2 separate regions of the Homo sapiens genome follow, and region 2 is linked to region 1. Evidence: promoter capture Hi-C in 16 types of primary human blood cells and fetal thymus (Javierre and others, 2016). All regions are on one chromosome and are shown on one strand. The core of a region is centred on a gene start or on the middle of the fragment in contact, and the rest is flanking DNA. Distances in the headings are between cores, read along the strand shown.

Evidence for each region. Contacts are between HindIII fragments. The CHiCAGO score rates a contact against its expected background, and 5 or more counts as called.
Region 2: a fragment that was not itself captured here is called in contact with the fragment with the promoter of ERLIN2 in region 1 in 2 of 17 cell types (M1 macrophages and M0 macrophages); the score reaches 6.7 in M1 macrophages.

The regions. Positions count from the first base shown.
Region 1 is chr8:37,733,968-37,737,913 of GRCh38, reverse strand. ERLIN2 (ER lipid raft associated 2) reads right to left here and starts at 1,280. Exons shown (of 12, transcript NM_007175.8): 1 at 1,236-1,280; 2 at 1-6. It overlaps LOC102723701 (a long non-coding RNA gene), which reads left to right and starts at 488. Exons shown (of 2, transcript NR_125821.1): 1 at 488-535; 2 at 1,116-3,153. RefSeq lists enhancers at 1-718, 1,198-1,407. The HindIII fragment of the contact is 8,102 bases long and covers 1-3,946 here.
Region 2 is chr8:37,217,177-37,221,655 of GRCh38, reverse strand. No RefSeq gene overlaps it. Among named protein-coding and RNA genes, the nearest start is that of LINC01605, 380 kb to the left of the region's middle. The HindIII fragment of the contact is 851 bases long and covers 2,426-3,276 here.

The DNA of each region.
Region 1 (3,946 bases), core at 31-2,530:
TTTATCCTAGGGAAAAGACACGGGAAAATGTGTGTGGTCCAACGTGCAGGAGAAAAGGCCACAACAGCGAGAGGACCTCACCAAGCTGAGCTCCCTGCGAGTGACTCATATCCAGCCTGGTGTCGTGTGAACACAAGGCTAGATCTACAACTCGCTTCCTCCTCGTTCTCAGTCAACGTTCCCCTTTCTTTAACTGTAAAATTAGAGCCCCCACCGCACTGAGGAAGCACTGGCTCCGGATACAGCCGTTGCTCAAGGGAGAACCCGTGCCAGCTGGGTAGGGTTCAGAACACAGCCTTGTCTTCCTGTGAACACGAATGTGCTGTCACTGAACCTTTCCTACCAGTAGTAGGGAAGAGAGGCAGCTGCAGTACTTTGGCCCAAATTACAGAGGATGCCAAATGACAGGCAGTTGTGGCTATGTAATTCTGGTCAGAGTCTCCCACTCCTAATTGCCTGCAGTTTCAAAGGAAACCATTATTTACTCCTTTCAGATGCTGGAGTGGCAGAGCCAGCAGGCGAGCAGAGTTTCAAGGTAGGATTCGTTGGCCTCGCATCCACCTTCCCAGTTATTCCTTTGGCCCTAAACAGGACAGGGCTCTGAACAAGCCTGAAGCCACACTCCCCCCCATATACTTTGGCACTTTGCACCTGACAGATCCCCAAGCCCGTGGTCAGAGAGAAAGGCAATGTCCCAAACTGCGAGCCTCTAGGCTCCTAGGTCCAACCGCGTTCAGGCACCAGGACGCGGAGGAGTGGGATCCTGAACGCTGAATGATCTGGAACTATGGTGACTGACTGCAAAGTTCAGCTGTGCGTGCGTGGGCCCGTGAGCGCAGGGCGTGGATTCTGCCTCCCAGGTCTAACGTAACCGGGGCGCGGACATCTGCGAGGCGCTTATTTTACCGTGGCGGCCTCCGGCTACCGATCTGCAGTTGCGTCCTTTCCTGCCAGTGCCCTTCCCTCCCCGAGGTCACTCGCGCCCCTTCCCCGCCCCGTTCCGAGAGAGGGTCAAGCGCCCTGGTCTGGGGCTGCGGCTCCAATAGCCTCCGCTCGGTCCCCCTGCGGCTCGCAAGGAGAGGACGCGACAGAAAAGGGTTTCTGTCTCTCTCCAGGAGCGGGCCGGCTGAGGGAGAGAAGCTGCTGGGACTGAGGTTCCCGAAAGTGACGGGTCAGCCCCGACCCTGAGCGGCAGCTAGGCCCAGCGCGCGCACGAAGGGGCGGGGGCCGCGTACCAGGCTGTCCCTGCAGGCGCTCCGTACTCGTCCGAGCCCACGAGCAAGAAAACCGTCACACCCCTCAGCACGCGACTTCCTTCCGGGCCGTCGCTTCGATGACGCCATCAATTCACGCGAGAAGACCACACCCCCGCCCCGCGCTCGCTCTGCGCCCCGCCCCTCGCGCTCCCAGCGGTCAATGGCCGTAGCTGGCCGCCAGGGATCGCCCGCGACTTGGTCGGTGCGGTCCTGGACCTCGGTCTTGGGTATCCGTCCTGGGGCTGGGGATGAGGGCGGTGTTGGTGGGAGCTCCCCGAGAGCGAGCGGCAGGACGCGCATGCCCCGGAGTACTGAGACCCAGGGCGAACCTTTCCAAGGCGTTGACTTTGGGGATTGCTCCGGATTTCCTTCTGCATTAGGCCGAACCTGGTTCGTTTTGGTTTTTTTAGAGACAAGGTCTCGCTCTTTTGCCCAGGCTGGAGTGCAGTGGCACGATCATAGCTCACTACAGCCTCGAACTCCTGGGCTTAAGCGATCCTCCCACCTCACCCTGCTGAGTAGCTGGGACCACAGGCGCACGCCACGACACTTGACAATTTTATTTTTAGTAAAGACAGGGTCTTGGTATTTCTGGTCTCAAACTCTGGCTTCAAGCAATCCTCCTGCCTCGGCCTCCCAAACTGCTGGGATTACAGGCATGAGCCACCATGCGCGGCCTTTTTTTTTTTCTCTCCTTGATAAGGTACTGGCGAGTTGCAACTGTTTGCTTTCCTATAGCACAGCTGAAATGAAACAGTCTTTTCAATGTACAGATTAGCATCATTACCTCACCAATCAAAAATCCCTACCTTGAGTTGTTCTTTATATTTTTCTGGGAGCTTTGGCCCTTGGGATCCTGCAACGCCACAAAGTATATTAACAAGGAATTATTATTCTAATTTTAATGAACGGAATCTAAGAAGTTCAGCGAGGTTCAAGGGTAAAAGCCAAGGAAAGTTTCCTTTGTGTTTCCTTAATATCTTGAGTTCACTGCTTTTTAAACTCCTGCCACAGTGCACAGGGGCTAGTGCACTTCGTCTTTCTAGATAAACTGTACGTTCCCGGGAGAGCAGAGACTGACTTTCCTTCCGCACCCCCGGGGCTTAGGTGCCCAGTAAAAACAGACTGAAGGCAACGTGGGACCAGGCCCGGAATCCAGAGTTTGTGTCTCCTAGTCTAAGGGCCTCACGTTGTCCTCCACCTGCCCTATTCACCAGCATCACATTGGGGCATTTCTAATTCAGCCACTGAGGTTATTAATATTTTGTTTGCAGGAGAGAAAGAGTCCACTTAATTATAGCCTTCAGTAAAAGAAAAACTTTTACACCGGGAAGATGGCAAGCTGGTGGTGTTAGACAGATTTAAGACTCAGGAAAAGGGAAGTGTGGTTTTTTCCAGGCATGCCTGCTTGGGATTGGCCCGTTTACCTTTCCTGCGTTTGCTCTGGGTGTTGGGATGTTTCAGCATTACATGGTGAAACCCATACGAGGGTTACATGGTGCTGTCTGGGAGCTCTGTGCCCATCTCCATAAATGAAGGCCTTTCATCTCCCTACTCTGTCCCTGCATCCCCCACCCCAAACAGACACAGCTGGCCAATCTCTCGATCAATCCTATCAGAACTTGAGTTTTTTCTCTCCCTGTTCAGTGATATAACCTCAGCTGGGCATGCTTATTTAATAGTTTATTTAATAATTGAGTAAGAAAAATGGAAATATTAGGGTTCATCAACCCATGAAATGGGGGCTAGCCTGCAGCATCAAGTATTTAAATTACTTGTAATTTAAGAATTTCCTTTAACCAACCTCTGGCAACCCGTCTCCCCTCCCCTTCCCACAAATATGTATATTATTATGTGTCAATTAAAAATAATAAAAACACAAAAATTTCCTCACATTAAACTTTGGAGTGAATTGTGGCTAGAAGTTTTGGGATTTTGTTCTTAGGAGTCATTTTACCAGACCTGAGTTATTTAGTTGTGGACGTGCCTAAAGGCAGGGGGATGGACTTCGTGATGTGCTAGTACATGATGATCTAGTACTTCTGAAAATCTCTTTCTTAAGAGACCTGTGATTTTTATGTTACCCAGCAGATACATTTGTGATGATTTGTTTAACAAAAATGTTTACAATTTCTTTTTCTCCTTCCTTCCTTCCTTCCTTCCTTCCTTCCTTCCTTCCTTCCTTCCTTCCTTCCTGTCTCGCTCTGTCACCCAGGCTGGACTGCAGTGGCGCGATCTCAGCTCTGCAACCTTTGCCTCCCTTCAAGCGATTCTCCTGCCTCAGCCTCCCGAGTAGCTGGGGCTACAGACGCATGCCACCACGACTGGCTAATTTTTGTATTTTTAGTAGAGATGGGGTTTCACCACGTTGGTCAGGCTGGTATTGAACTCCTGACCTCAAGTGATCCACGTGCCTTGGGCTCCCAAAGTGCTGGGATTACAGGCGTGAGCCACTGCGCCCGGCTAAAATTTTATTTTTTAAAAAACCTCACAGTATAGAGTAGTGATTTAGCTCAGATACTTCACAGTCAGGCTGCCTTGTTTAAATCCTGGAGCCTGCCTCTTATTCTGTAACATTGGAAAAATGATCTATCCCTGCCTCAGTTTCTTCATCTATAAAATTAAAGTAATAATGGTATGAAACTTATAGGACTGTTGTGAAAAGCATATACAACATTTGGTACATTTTA
Region 2 (4,479 bases), core at 1,602-4,101, 520 kb after region 1:
GCGAGAATCTAGGGGAGGCATTTCTGCCTGGTTTCAGTTCCAGGAACGGTTATGTTTATCTTGAATGACTGTTTAGATTTAATGTTGTGGACACTGAATGGTGTACATGATCCCATTTCCTTATTTGCATTTGGTGATTAGAAAACACTGAACCAAATTGGTGCCCCGTCCCTGATGGTGTATTGAATTCCAAGAAGTGTCTATGTTTGGTACTAATCTCACTCACTGCTCATATTTTCTTTTTGCCTCAGTTTTCTTATTTTAAATTAATTTCATCATGTAGAATGACATGTAAGCCATTTGTTGATAGGAGATAGGAGTGAAAATAAGTCAAGAAGACTGGGTGGGACTACAAGACACCCTGGACTTGGATACCAGGGTGCTGGGGCAGGTAGGTCTGAGCATGGAGGCCATCAGTTGCATCTAGGATGAGAGCAGAGCTTTCTGCTATATGAGTTTTTGAAAAAGTACCCTTATACCTACAAAGTCCCTGTTAAGTAAAATGCAAATGATTCACATAAGGCCAGGCCTACATGACACTAGTCACCTATCCAGTAACCAGAGGGAGCCCCTGGGAGTCTCAGCCCATCTCACTCGCACCACTTGACCTGGCCAGGTCAACCTGATCCAGGTAACATAGATGGCAAAGTCTTACTTGGTGGTTCATACTGCTTCCTTCCCTTGCAGGGAAGGCACGACAAGTTCAGCTTCTGAGCCTACCAGCCTGGCAGTGTCCATGACGCCATGTCTTCCCGCTCATACTTGCCTGATTTTGCAAAGGCAGCTGCTCTTAGTGACTCTTGCTGAACCTTCTTCTCCCCAAACTCCACCTCCAAATAGTCTCTGTCTTTTTTTTTTTTTTTTTTTTTTTTTAGTAGAGACAGGGTCTTGTTATGTTGGCCAGGCTGGTCTTGAACTCCTGGCCTCAAACAATCCTCCTCGTGGGCCTCCCATAGTACCAGTTTATAGGCGTGAGTCACTTTGCCAGGCCAATTCTTTTTTGATGGATCATTTATCTACAGGTTTCCCTTGCCCTACGGTTCCTGCTTTCTAGAGCCTCAACTCCCTTTCCCACACACCAAGCCCACTTTTCTTCCCCTCTTTACCCTCTTCTTCTCAGTATCTAATTTTTTTTTTTTTTTTTGTAGAGATGGGTTTTCACCATGTTGCCCACACTGGTCTCGAACTCTTGGGCTCAAGCAATCTGCCCACCTGGGCCTCCAAAGTGCTAGCATCACAGGTGTGAGCCACTGTGCCCGGCCAGTATATGAATTTTAAAGGCCTTTATGTAGCTCAATAAAGCCAGCCTCCACCTCAGTTGCGGTCCCACATGGCAGACACATCAGGGCATGGAGGCCTTTCTTGGAGGGCCCAGATCACATCTGTTCCTATCTGGCTCCAGTGTAGGCTGGTGGTTCTCAACCCTGGCTGCACGTTTGAATCATGGGGGAGCTTTTCAAAAAGACGAATGCTAGGGCCACCCCAAATCAACTGGAGCTGATTCTTGAGTAGTGGTGGTGGGTTGGGAAGCACTCTCCAGGTGGATCTGATATGTAAGCTAACACTGAGAACAACCACTATCATAAAGAGACCAGCCTAGGTCAGTGTCCTTAAAATAGCTCCTGGCCACCGCTGGAGCTTGGATGGGGGGCTGTGGCTCTACAAGGCGAGTGGTGTGAGTAGGGTGTGTTTGGGTTAAACCTCTGAGAATCTGGAGAACTGCTGCCTCATGAGTAAATGCTGAGGGTCTGCTGATGGTCGATAGCTGTCAGCAACATGGACACTCCAGCTTTGGGGGCACTGTGCTGAAGGAGGTGAAAGGCTGAAGGAACAGCAGAGGAGAAGCAGAAGCCACATGCCCAGCAAGGTATCTCATGGCATCTGTTCCCATGGGGCCTGGCACGTCTCTGTGCCAGGTGGCATTAAAGGAGAGGCTCTCGCCTTACTGTTCAATGCACGCACAGCAACTCCTCCAGCAGGGCACAGGCCAGCCTGCTGTTGGGAGGATATGGGGAAATTTCAGAACATTATGAGCTGCTGAAAAGTTTACAGGTGTCTATTTTACTTTCCCAGCCCATCGTGGCAGCCTTTGCAGGTACAGAGCAGCCTCATTTATCTTCCACTGTCAGGGGAGTACCGTGTTCCACTTAAGTGAATTTCCCTGAAATCCCAAGCTTGTTCTTTCTAAAGCCAAAATTTCATTTATTTTAGCCATTCTGAATGGAAGACTTTCTAAAATGCATTCTACACCTCCTCACCTTCTTAGATACACACCAGAATTTAACTCTTTCTGCATGACCTTGACTAATTTTTATGACCGCCCAGCACCCACAATGCCTCTTCTCACTTAACTTTGTTTATTTCCTCTACTATCGGGCTGTCAGTTGTCAATTCGCATTGCTGTTATTGAGCTTTATCTAAAGCTTTCCTCTTCCGCCTCCTGTAGGTCTTATACATGCAACATCCAATTTGCTGTGACTAGGAAATCAAATATGTGAGACTGTTAGATTTTTATGTTAAGCAGGAGTGAGGAGGCCTTGAATGAGTTTCTTGGTTCTTCTTCCAAGCAATACAGTCCATGAATTTGGTGTAGGATCATGCAATAGTTATTTCAGGTATCCAGGGCTTTCTTTGCTTGCACATCTTGGAAGTTACTAGAAGTCAAGTTTCAAAATAAGTGGGGATGATGCTGTAGTGGGCTGGAAGAGCAGTATAAGTATTTTTCCAACTGTTCATTTTCAGGAATGTCATGTATCTTATCCAACTAGCCGGATGCCTGCAGAGGAAGTGTTACTGTCTTCACCTGCCAGACTACCTGTCACTAGGTTTTTTGTCTGCAGGTTTCATGAGTCTGGCCTTTGTTTGACAAAGGACCCTCCCACATGGAAAGAAATGAAGATCAAAAGCCCCTTCAGGAATATGTCCAGGTCTTCAAACTCTGAGACAGGGCCCTGGTTTGAAGACCTGTCAGATTCAGACAGATGCAGTGACATTTGGAAAGTAATTTGAATTACCAGAGGACCAGAGATATTGGATGGCCAGCAAAAATGTCTCCTCACACCTGCTGTCAATGTCGATCAACCACCAGTATAGCATTCTCCTGAGAGGAGCATTGCCCTCACCTACATTTCGGTGTCTTGTGAAGTTACAGCATTTGGGCTGGCAGCCTGAGTATGTTGCTGGGAAGACTAATAGCCTGCAATTAAGATCATCTGCAGGGAATATTCCAGGTTTTAGAGAATCCAGCTCTGGGATGTTTAGTGTCCCAGCAAAGCTTGGGGCATGAGTATCATCACCATCATGAGGAATTACCCATTATCACACTATGTTGGCACTGTTCTACGAGGAGGGTATGATAAGTTCTGTTTTAAAGATTGAAAACTGAGCTTACAGATAAGGTATCTTTCCTGAGGTCAGGCAACTGGAAACCGATGGAGCTGAGATTAGAACTCAGGACTATGGACAAATTCATCAAACTTGCTTCCTCTCTGATCATGGCCTGGCTGCTGCTCTCTGTATCCTCAGTCTACTCAAATGCTCTTACCTCCTAAACTTTTCTCAGGAATCACAGGGAGATGGGAGTTTGGAGCTTGTTATGATGATGGCAGGCCCTGGAGAACAGAGATCAAGGCCAGCTTTTCATATAGATGGGGCAGGTGGCCACCTCTGTGGCATGCAGGGGGACTGACGTGTCACTCGTGCCCTGGATATACTACTGCTTATATCATCTGAGATGCCTGAAATCCTCAAATTAGAGTTGGAATCCTTTGGCTTTGAGGTTTTTTTCAAGGTAAAAAGATATAAATAACCCTGGAAAGGTGCTACTTTAAGCTATAATACTTCCTCTTATGTGCATCTTAGAGTAAACAAGTTTCAAATATTTTCTTGAGAGCAGATTTTTTCCTGGAGCACAGGGAAAGTGTGAGTACTACATGTTCACATTGTCCACTGAGGGACGAAAAGGGGTACAGAGCAGCAGGCTGGAGGCACCAAGTCCAAGTTTATTCCCTTGCAGCTTCATCTGGAATCTGTTTGGGGACAATGATGAAGTTAGAGATCAAAAGATACACTAGAAAGTGCGTACATCATACGTCGCATCTGAAGCTAAGAAGATAGTGCAGTAGATGTGTGGTTGGGATCCAAGCACTGGATTGACACTTTGGGAGCCATAAACAGAAATCTTGCCTGTGCCATTTTGCTTAGCCTCCTATTTCCTGGGCCAGTTACGATCTTTTTGAAACTTAAATAAATCTTCCAGTACTTGGCAGCACCTGAGATAAAGTAAGGGTTCAATAAATGCTCATTCAGTATTAACCTTTCCATCCCAATACATGTTCACAGGGTGGATGAATGGAAACTCTTGAGGGACACATGTGACCCTGTGTGCATTCAAGCAAATGCCCAGCACAGAGGGCTGGGAGGAGGGAAACGCCCTATATTGACACTCACATCCTTGTCAGCCAATGCAGAGTCAGAAGA